Linked DNA regions of Homo sapiens: all the other regions are linked to region 1. The links are contacts of gene promoters, found by promoter capture Hi-C in blood cells and fetal thymus (Javierre and others, 2016). All regions are on one chromosome and are shown on one strand. Each heading gives the region's core, a stretch centred on a gene start or on the middle of the fragment in contact. The rest is flanking DNA. Distances are from core to core; before and after follow the strand shown. Region 1 holds the start of SSRP1 (structure specific recognition protein 1). Region 2 overlaps ZDHHC5 (zDHHC palmitoyltransferase 5). Region 3 holds the start of ZDHHC5 (zDHHC palmitoyltransferase 5). Region 4 has its middle 19 kb from the start of MIR130AHG.

Evidence for each region. The method cuts DNA at HindIII sites, captures the fragments that hold promoters and counts their contacts. A CHiCAGO score of 5 or more calls a contact.
Region 2: a fragment that was not itself captured here is called in contact with the fragment with the promoter of SSRP1 in region 1 in 12 of 17 cell types (activated CD4 T cells, erythroblasts, megakaryocytes and 9 more); the score reaches 7.4 in activated CD4 T cells.
Region 3: the fragment with the promoter of ZDHHC5 here is called in contact with the fragment with the promoter of SSRP1 in region 1 in 17 of 17 cell types (naive CD4 T cells, activated CD4 T cells, total CD8 T cells and 14 more); the score reaches 32.7 in naive CD4 T cells.
Region 4: a fragment that was not itself captured here is called in contact with the fragment with the promoter of SSRP1 in region 1 in 2 of 17 cell types (monocytes and fetal thymus); the score reaches 5.8 in monocytes.

Annotation. Positions count from the first base shown.
Region 1 is chr11:57,334,622-57,337,178 of GRCh38, forward strand. It overlaps SSRP1 (structure specific recognition protein 1), which reads right to left and starts at 1,271. Exons shown (of 17, transcript NM_003146.3): 1 at 1,109-1,271; 2 at 447-619; 3 at 1-27. The coding sequence starts at 500. It also overlaps a transcript of P2RX3 not described here. RefSeq lists enhancers at 440-509, 1,360-1,409 and a silencer at 1,010-1,189. The HindIII fragment of the contact is 4,158 bases long and covers 1,209-2,557 here.
Region 2 is chr11:57,684,713-57,687,269 of GRCh38, forward strand. The region is part of intron 3 of ZDHHC5 (zDHHC palmitoyltransferase 5); the gene reads left to right. Among named protein-coding and RNA genes, the nearest start is that of ZDHHC5, 18 kb to the left of the region's middle. The HindIII fragment of the contact is 5,752 bases long and covers 1-2,557 here.
Region 3 is chr11:57,666,828-57,669,384 of GRCh38, forward strand. ZDHHC5 (zDHHC palmitoyltransferase 5) reads left to right here and starts at 1,287. Exons shown (of 12, transcript NM_015457.3): 1 at 1,287-1,360. RefSeq lists enhancers at 339-918, 1,088-1,727, 1,728-2,365, 1,919-1,988 and silencers at 1,119-1,358, 1,609-1,808. The HindIII fragment of the contact is 3,116 bases long and covers 1-1,877 here.
Region 4 is chr11:57,618,554-57,621,110 of GRCh38, forward strand. No RefSeq gene overlaps it. Among named protein-coding and RNA genes, the nearest start is that of MIR130AHG, 19 kb to the right of the region's middle. The HindIII fragment of the contact is 3,483 bases long and covers 1-2,557 here.

The sequences.
Region 1 (2,557 bases), core at 21-2,520:
ACGGCTCAACCTCAGTCGACCATCATTCTGTAAGAAAAGCAGGCCCAGATGCATGGAGACAGTACACAGCATGTCCTGGGTTCTACAGCTCTACCTAACACACATTCCTGCTGCAAGTGGACTGGCCAGATTATCAATGCAGGAGCAACAGCTGAGGGTGCCAAGGAGTCTAGATTCTAAACCAGACTCTGGTATCTAGAACCCTTAACAGATTCTCAGTTTCCTCATTTGTAAAACAGGAATTGGGAACTGAACAGCATATACGGTCCCTATAACTCTGAGACTATCTCTCAGTATTGCCTTGAGTTGGTGGAGACACTAGGTACACATTATACTGAGTCTTCTTTTTCCAAAATAACGTTACCAAAGCAAGCTCTCATTAATGGACAAAAACTCTACCCTCCTTCCTTCTCTCTACTTGTATCACCTGTCCAAGCCATTCTCACCATGGAACCTTTCACCTCCTGATAGACGTCGTTGAACTCCAGTGTCTCTGCCATGTCGACCCCTGCCTGTGGTGGCCTGGGCAGAGCCCCAGGCTGCACAAGGGAAACCAAGTAAACTGGGAGCTGGGCCCCAACTCCTGAGTGGGTGTGCGGATGCTCAGCAGGTTGGGAATCTGAATTCAAGAGGAAGACAGATAAGCATGAAAGACAGCACCTCGCTGTGCTCACGGATGGAGCCAGGTAGCAACTCCCAGCTGCGCCTGGATGTCTCAGGATTTCCTCTGCCTGGAAACCTACAGACGGACGCTGCAGTGCCCGAGGGTCCAGGTCCAGGCCTGGGTGGAGAACCGGGCCCGGAATACCGCTGACACCCAACCCGACGCCCGCTCTGGCCGCTCCGGCGGGAGCCATGGCAACGAGCAGCGGAACCCCAGGGTCTGCCAGGAGCCCGCACATCGCACGCGACCCAATCCAGCTCAGAGTGCAGGGTTTCCCTCGCACCGCTCCCACCACCCCGCGGCCCCAGACCCACGGTTCACCCCCGCCCCACATAATGGATTCGCCCGCTCCCCGCGGTTGCGAACGCGGAATGGTCCATGTCGAGGGTCCCGTGGGGGAGCGGGGCCCCTGCCTTCCTGGGACCGGGGACGACCACCACCTACCTCCTCAGGCTGCGGCCTCGCGAGGGCCCCGGCGCGAGAGGTGGGCGCGCTGGGGGGACGCGGGGGGGGCGCGGGGAGGGGGATGGGGGGACACCGGGGAAGCTTTTCCCGCGTGCGCGGCCCCGCGTCCCGCCACCGGAAGCCGTACACAGGCCACAGAGAGGATGAGCTGGCTAGAGAGACGCGAGTCGGGCCCGCCTGCGAGACAGTCGCATAGAGCGTCAGCGACTCTGGAGGACCTGAGGGAAGGGTGGTTGCCGTGAAGCCTCTCTCACCCAGGGGGAATCCGGCCTAGAAAATGTGTGTAGGGCTCTTTAGAAACTACAGACACTTCTTCAGTCGAGACTAGATACTAAAGAGAAATTGTGTAGTTTTATTGTATCAGACTTAGTACAGGGGTGGGGTGGGGGTGTGTATTGGAATGATGCGTGCCCGTTTCTCTGCAAAATAGTTTCTATGTCATGGAAAGGAGTCGATGGGACAAGAAGAGAAGTATTTGAACAGTTGTGGGAGGAAACGACCTCTCCCACTGGCTGCGGAGAGTATGCGGGTGTTGGTGTCATCGTGGGTGCACTGCTTTCTGGCTGAACTGTCAAGTTCACTGTCTACACCCAAAATTTTCACATCCTTAACCGAAAATTATAGGTACCTCCAAGAGGCTGGCAAACGGCCTTATCCAGTTCAAGTCCTGGTGTCAGATTCACCTTGGAGCCAGAACTGATTTGAAACCACATCATCCTGTGGTTGCGGAAGCCAGGTCTCCCCCGTATAATCCCAGAGTGCATTTTGCAACATCAGAGACCAGACCTGGAAAAGATGTTTTAGTTTTTCTACCCCAACCTCCTTTTACTGATGGGAAAACTGAGACCCAAAGGGGAGTGAGTTGCCCAGGGTCTCAGTGCGTTGGCAACAAGGCTAGGTAGGACCCAGACCTCCTTAACACCACCAGTCCAGTTATCTTCTGTCATAATCACAGTGACTGTATGTTCAGAATGACTATTGATATGTGTCCTACATGAAGACATTAGTACAGAATATGTAAGCTCAAGATTTCCCTGACAATCAATACACCAGCTTGCTAAATCAATCCTGGGGTAAGAGACAACAGGAATGCACCCTTCTCCCCTGAACTCATAGCTTTAACCTCTGAGTAGTGGCTATTCCAGCATTATCTAGCAAAATAAATTCAACTGGGTTTAATAAATAGATATTGAGGGCCTATTACTACTTTAGCACACTTCTCAGATTTGAGGAAACTTGAACAAGGTGAAAACATCCCCGGCCAGGCACGGTGGCTCACACCTGTAATCCTAGCACTTGGGGAGGCCAAGGCAGGGAGATCACTTGAGGTCAGGAGTTTGAGACCAGACTGGCCAACGTGGTGAAGCCCCGTCTCTATTAAAAATACAAAAATTAGCCAGGCGTGGTGGCGGGTGCCTATAATCCCAG
Region 2 (2,557 bases), core at 20-2,519, 350 kb after region 1:
TGGACTAAAAGGTAGAAAGAAAATAAGTTGACAAAGGTTGTCACTGATGACATGTAGTTTTCCTCTCAAATGTGAGGTTATTTTGCAAGAGTGAGACAAGTAGTTTCGGGCTGGCAACTCTGCTGAGATGAAGTTTTTCTGAAATTCACTGTAGGCTTGGCGTGGTGGCTCACATCTTAATCCCAGCACTTTGGGAGGCCAAGGTGGGCAGATCACCTGAGGTCAGGACTTTAAGACCAGCCTGGTCAACATGGTAAAACCCTGTCTTTACTGAAAAATACAAAAATTAGCCCGACATGGTGGTGGGTGCCTGTGATCCCAGCTACTTGGGAGGCTGAGGCAGGAGAATCGCTTGAGTGGGGGAGGCAGAGTTTGCAGTGAGCCGAGATTGTGCCATTGCACTCCAGCCTGGGCAACAGCAAGACTCCGTCTCAAAAAGAAAGAAAAAAAGAACTTCATTGTGCTCCCAAAGCCTACATCATTGTGCTTTGTTTGTGACTTCCCTTCAAAGATTGGGTGAGGGAAAAGAACTTTGTGTCCCTAAAGCCAAGAAAGGCTATTTTAATGAGCCTTTAATGTTCATTCATCAAATATTTATTGATGTATTATGGAAGGCACTATGATGGTCATTTGGGGTTTTTAAGAAGGTCATTGCTGGCCGGGCGTGGTGGCTTACGCCTGTAATCCCAGCACTTTGGGAGGCCAGGGCGGATCACTTGAGGTCAGGAGTTCGAGACCAGCCTGGCCAACATGGCGAAACCCCGTCTCTACTAAAAATATAAAAATTAGCCAGGCATGGTAGTGCACGTGCCTGTAACCCCAGCTCCTTGGAAGGCTGAGACAGGAGAATTGCTTGAACCTGGGAGGTGGAGGTTGTGATGAGCCGAGATTGCCCCATTGCACTCTAGCCTGGGCGATAAGAGCAAAACTCCATCTGAAGAAAAGTAAATAAAAAATAAAAAGGTCATTCCTTTCAAATAGCTCAGACTAGAAAGGAAGATAGGAAGACACCTCTATAAACAAATACACCGTGGGCCGGGTGCCGTGACTCACGCCTGTAATCCCAACTCTTTGGGTGGCCCAGGTGAGTGGATCACCTGAGGTTGGGAGTTCGAGACAAGCCTGACCAACATGGAGAAACCCTGTCTCTACTAAAAATACAAAATTAGCCGGGCGTGGTGGCGCATGCCTGTAATCCCAGCTACTCGGGAGGCTGAGGCAGGAGAATCGCTTGAACCCGGGAGGTGGAGGTTACTGTGAGCTGAGATTGCGCCACTGCACTCCAGCGACAGTGTGAGACTACATCTCAAAACAAACAAACAAAAAACAAATACATTGTGTAAGAGTAATCAAAGAGATCACTTCTGGTAGATGATGATGTAGAAGGATCAGACATTTCAAAATAAGGAGCATTGCAACTGGGCATGCTGGTGCCCACCTGCGGTTCCAGCTACTTGGGAGGCTGAGGTTGGAGGATCAGTTGAGCCCAGGAGTTCAGGGCTGCAGTGAGCTGTGGTCGCAGCACAGCACTCCAGCCTGGGTGATAGAGCAAAACTCTCTTAAAAGAAAAATAGCATTTGAATTTTTTCCCTTTAAAAGAAAAAAATCTTTTTTTTTTTGAGACAGAGTCTCACTCTCTGTTGCCCAGGCTGGAGTGCAGTGGCTCCATCTCGGCTCACTGCAAACTCTGCCTTTCGGGTTCAAGCAATTATTCTACCTCAGCCTCCCGAGTCGCTGGAATTACAGGAGCGTGCCACCGTGCCTGGCTAATTTTTGTATTTTTAGTAGAGATGGGGTCTCACCATGTTGGCCAAGCTACTCTGGAACTCCTGACCTCAAATGATCCACCTGCCTCACCCTCCCAGAGTGCTGGGATTACAGGCATGAGCCACTGTGCCTGACCAAAAGAAAAAATCTTTTATTTAAAGATTTCAATAAGTAGTGCACATTCATTATGTACGAAGTACAAAAAAGGCAAAACATTACCTATAATTTCACAGACCAGAGCTAACTACTGTTATATTGTGGTATATATCCTTGCAATATTTTGAAGACTTAAAAAATATATGTGTATATTTATGTATACCATGTATCTGCAGTATATATTTGTGTGTGTGTGTGTTTTTTTTTTTTTTCCAGACAGTGTCTTACTCTGTCACCAAGGCTGGAGTGCAGTGGCATGATCTTGGCTTACTGCAACCTCTGCCTCCCAGATTCAAGCCATTCTCCTGCCTCAGCCTCCCAAGTAGCTGGGATTACAGGCGTGTGCCACCACCCCTGGTTAATTTTTATATTTTTTGTAGAGATGGGGTTTCGCCATTTTGGCCAGGCTGGTCTTGAACTCCTGGCCTCAAGTCATCTGCCCTCCTTGGCCTCCCAAAGTGCTGGGATTACAGGCATGAGCCACCGTACCCAGCTGTACAGTTCTTTACCTAGCATTTCTTGTGATGTAAATATGAAAAAATGCTATGTAAAGAAATCAGTAAAATTTGAAAACTTAATTTTTAATTCCACACTATCATCTATTTAATTTTTCCTTCCCACATTTTTTTTTTCT
Region 3 (2,557 bases), core at 37-2,536, 330 kb after region 1:
TAGCCTCGAGCCGAATGGGGAGAGAACATGGGGCATTGCTATTGGGTTCACAGCTGTCTTGGGCTAATCAGGGCAAAGCGTAGCACTATGACCTATGCAGAGTTAGCTCGCCAGGGACAGTAGCTATTCTAGAGAACCTTTTGCTTTTAGCTTTGTATTCTAGGATTGGGTGAGGTGAGGGATGCGGGCGCCCATCCCACGTGTGACAGTGGGAAACTAATGGAATTCAGGGAGTTCACTTCCCGGCTCGCACTCCGGGGGCGGGAGGGTGCTGCCACCGCCTCAGGTCGCGCGCTCCTTAGGCTTCCCTCTCACGGTTAGCGCTACGGCTCCAAGGCTGGCGCCTGCTCTTCTTCATCTCCCTCCCCGGCCCTTGGCAGGAGCCTCGCCCTACATTGGCTCTTCAAGTCCGGGCGTCCCCTTCATGTGGGAGACACAGCCCAGACCATTCCATCGCCCTGGATTCTGCCCGGACCAGCGACCTCGCCGGACTGAAGATTTCTCCAGCAAGATTGTTTTAAATAAAGTTTTTGCCATCAAAAAAAAAAAAAAAAAAAAAAAAGGAGATGGGAAGGAGAAGAGGGAGGCCTAGTCGCCAAATGGTTGGCCAATCCGCCGCGAAGGGGCTGAAGCAGGAAGCGGCGATAGTCGTCGGTAATTGGCTGCGCTGGAAGCCTGTCTGGACTGTACCACCTCAGTAGGAGAGGGGTTGCTGAATTCGAGAAGGTAGCTGCTTGCTTTTGAGTACTTCTAGTACACACACATAATTCTTTTCTTATTTCCGGGGGTTTTTGCTTGGATTCAGTGGGAATACAACAGGACGCAGGAGAAGGGAAGACTCGCCTGGCCATTTCCTCATTCCTGACTCCTGTGCATTAGGCCAATCCTTGTCTCTTAGTTGTCCCCGCAACCCCACGGCCTTACGTGCGCGCTCTCGTCTTCTCGCGTGCGTACGTCGTTGTGTTGCTGCAGCCAATCAGGCCGCGAGGTCGCCGCGGTCGCCAGGGTTCGCGCGCACGCCCCAGATCGGAGTCGGGGTGGGGGCTATGGGTGAATGGGAGAGTGAGCGGGGTTGGGCGCGGCAGCGCGAGCCGCATGAATGAGACAAACGTGCGCCGCGCGAGACGTCGCGCGAGCCCGGACTAGGGAGCCAATGGGAACGCTGGAAGGGTTCGAGACCCGGCACTGAGGGCAACGGCCGCGCGCCGGCTCCGAGACGAGCGACGCCTGGCGGGAGCGCGCGGCAGCGGGGCGGGCGTGGAGCGTGCGGGGGCCGCGCGCTGCTTCTCTGAGGCAGGACGGCACTGCCGGGAGGCGGCGGTGACAACGACGGCGGTGGTGACGGGCACCGGGCTCGCGGGTGAGTGCGGAGGACACCGGTCCCTGCGGAACCGGAAGTGCCGTACCAGCGAGGTGGGAGGGGAGGGTGACCTCTAGGGAAGGGGGACCGAAGACGGGGAGGGTATTAAGGCCCTATTTCTCCTCCGGGCCGGGTCTTCCAACCGCGGCGGGACCCATGGGCCTTGGAAACGGACGACGAGTAGAGGCCGGGGATCCACGACCGCCAGGGCTCGGAACGGGTTAGAGACGGCCACTCAGCTCGAGACCGCGGTCCCCGGTGCCTGGCGCCCAGCCGCCGCCCCTTCCGCCCCCGGCCCTGCGCCCTCGGGCTCTGCGGTCCCCGCAGCCCGCTCTCTCAACCTCGGTGGGCCTGGCCGCCGTGGATTCCTTCTTTTCGGTTTCAGCGGTCGTCAGCCCTGCCCCAACGGGTGATTCTCCTTTCCCCAGTCCCGTGGTGGGGACCGGGTGCTGTTTCCCTTTTACCGCTCTGCGGTTCGAGTCCCTCGCTCCACTCTGCTGATACTTATTTTGGCTCAAGCTTCATCCTGTTACCTGTTCTCTCTCACCCGTCCGCTTCCTCCTCCTACCGCCACCAGCCGAGTGCTCCATGCGTTTAGTACTTTGTACTTTTTAAAGTGGAGCCCGAATGCGTTTGTCAATATTTTACCTATATTTGGGGCAGGCAGGTGGAAAGTGTTTTACCCACTTGGCCAAATGAAACACTGAAATAAGAAGTAAGAAAGTTGCTAAAAGTTAGGAAGGCAGTTGTAGGATCACATATACGTTATACGCTAGACTATTTTTTGCCTTGGATTCTTCACTTCCTGGTTAATGCCATCTTGACCAAGTTGATCTAACATTTGCATATCATCCTTCTATCTCAGTATACCTCTGTCCTGGATCAAATATCTTCAGAATGCTCATTATCACCCATTGTATAAACTTAATGTTTACAAAATTATATTGCCATGTATTTTGCTACCTCGGTATATAATGATAACACCCACATTAAACTTCTTGGCTCTTTCTCCCATACCTTGACATGTGAATTATTCCATGGTACCTCCATTACTGTGCATTTAGATTTACTCTATTGTACTGTTACACCGCTTATTTCAACAAAAAATAGTTGTGTTGTCCTTGGTACTGCTGGTATCCACCTATTTAAGGAAATACCTGTATTAAACCTTATTAAAGCCTTCAAACCACATATCCT
Region 4 (2,557 bases), core at 18-2,517, 280 kb after region 1:
GGGGTTAGCTGAAGGTTTGTTGAGGTTTGATTTCACTGAGCTTGCATAGGCTCTTTCACATGTTTTAGACTTTGGCTGGGATCAACCAGATGACCAATTCTGATCCAAGTGATCTCTGGTCTTCCAGGAAGCTAGTCTGGCTTATTCATACGAAGTTTGCAAAAGTCCAAGAAAGCAAGCAGAGGCATGCATGCAAGGCCTCTTGAATCCGAAGCTAGGAACTACTAGAACATCACTTCTGCCTCATTCTAGCAGCCAAAGCAAGTCACCAGACCAGTTTAGATTCAAGGTAAGGAAAGAATCTCTACCTGTTAAAGAAAAGACCTGCAAAGTCATTCTGCTAAGGGCATTAATATAACGAAATGTGAATAATTCTGGCCACTTTTCCAGTATACCATATGTGGTCTTACATAGTTGCAAACAACTATTAGCAACTTTCCCCAGCAACCTGCCACTCTGTTTTTCCCTAAAGAATCAAGGGCTTTTGTCGAGATCATAATAATATTAGAAACACTTTGTTACATGAAGTTTCAAGTCGTTTGCATATAAATTGAATCTTCTGTTGCTATCTCTGTGGCATATTTAACAATCTCTGGCTCTTCCAGCTGCCTGTGTTGTAGAATAAATTATTATAAATACAGAGCTGCCTGAGTATTTATAATAATAAATAAATAAATTATCTTCATTTCCATTTCCCTTGAGAAAGATGGACAGAGGGCTATGCACTCATAGACACACACACACACACACACACACACACACACCCTTACAACCCCCACCTTTCTGCCCTGCCTTGCAATTCTACTCTGGGGTAGACAAAGGCCTGTATGTCCACAGATCCATTTTCAGTGATCTGTTTCCTGTCCCCAACTGTAGACCCCTCCACACGTGGATTTGTCTGGGGAAGAACCTTAAGGTGAGATTAGGGTTCCATTGCAATGAGTCTTTGCTGCCACTTGGTGTCATTGTTGAAGGCTTGTCCTGCATAGCCCCATGGACACTTGCCTTTTCAGGGAGATGTTTTTGCTGTTCCAGATTCTTTTTTTTTTTTTTTTTTGAGACAGAATCTCTCTCTGTTGCCCAGACTGGAGTGCAATGGTGCGATCTTGGCTCACTGCAACCTCTGTTTCCCAGGTTGAAGGGATTCTCCTGCCTCAGCTTCCTGAGTAGCAGGAATTATAGGCACCCACCATGTGTCCAGCTAATTTTTGTATTTTTAGTAGAGATGGGGTTTTACCATGTTGGCCAGGCTGGTCTCAAACTCCTGACCTCAAGTGATCCACCCATCTTGGCCTCCCAAAGTGTTAGAATTACAGGTGTGAGTCACTGTGCCTGGCCGGTTCCAGATTCTTAAACAGCTGATGTGGGGACTTAAACTTTGATTCCAAAGTTTACACTTTACACTTGTTCAGCCACTGTTTCTCAAAGATCAATACCTTTAGTTCTCTCTGGATAGCAGAAGGCTTCCAACATGAGCCATAGGCTATGTCAGAATCAGCCTCATCCCTATGAACCCTTAGGACATTGTCTTGACTCATGGTTGATAACCACATTAGCCATGTATCTACCTAACATGCATTAACCATTTGCCATGCTGTCAGGCACTGTGTTAAGAATTTTACATGGATTATGTTATTTCATTTAAGAGAGATCATGACTTAAGAAAAGGATATGTTACTGAATATATTAGATAATTCAAAATTTAGATAATTTGATACTAAGTTTTCCAGAATAATAACTGTAAAAGGTAGGGAGAGAATCTTCAACCATTGTAGAATTTCTTGTCTTCAAACTATTGTTTATTTTCTAAATACAAAAATCTCTAATATTTCTCAGAGTAGGCACTCTTAAATTAACTGCTTGGCATATCAGGACAGCTATTTGGGCTTTTTCATAGTGTCTTATCATATCTAACTTTCATTACAAAGTTATTGATTTTGGAGGGTGTTTTTAGCACTAGTGCCATGACTTAATGAATGAACTCTGAGATGACATCATTGTAGAATACAGGAAATATTTTAAATGATAAAGCTGAATGTTAAAATAACAGCACCTTAGTCACAAATGTCACTGTCAGAATTTATGATGCACATAAACAATAGCTGATTCACACAATTATGAGCAGTGATGGCAGTTATTTACTTTCACCAGCTCAAGTGCCACTATCATGTACCAATAGTTATGAGTATAGTTTACAATCCACTCAGCCCACCAATTTTGAAATTATGCAACCCTTGATGATTTTTTTTAATTTAGGGAGATTTTCAATTTTTCAAGTTTGTATAATTCAAATTTATATAATATACAGTAGTACCACCTCATTATTATCCTCTTTTATAGATGAAAAATGAAACCTTACAGTGCAATTGATCTACTCATTCAAGATCTCAGAAGTCCAGAAGTGGTGGCTTATGCTTGTAATCTTAGCACTTTGGGATGCCAAGGTGGGTGGATCACTTGAGGTCAGGAGTTCGAGACCAGCCTGGCCAACATGATGAAACCACATCTCTACCAAAAATTAGTCGGGGGTGGTGGTGGGCATTTGTAATCCCAGCTA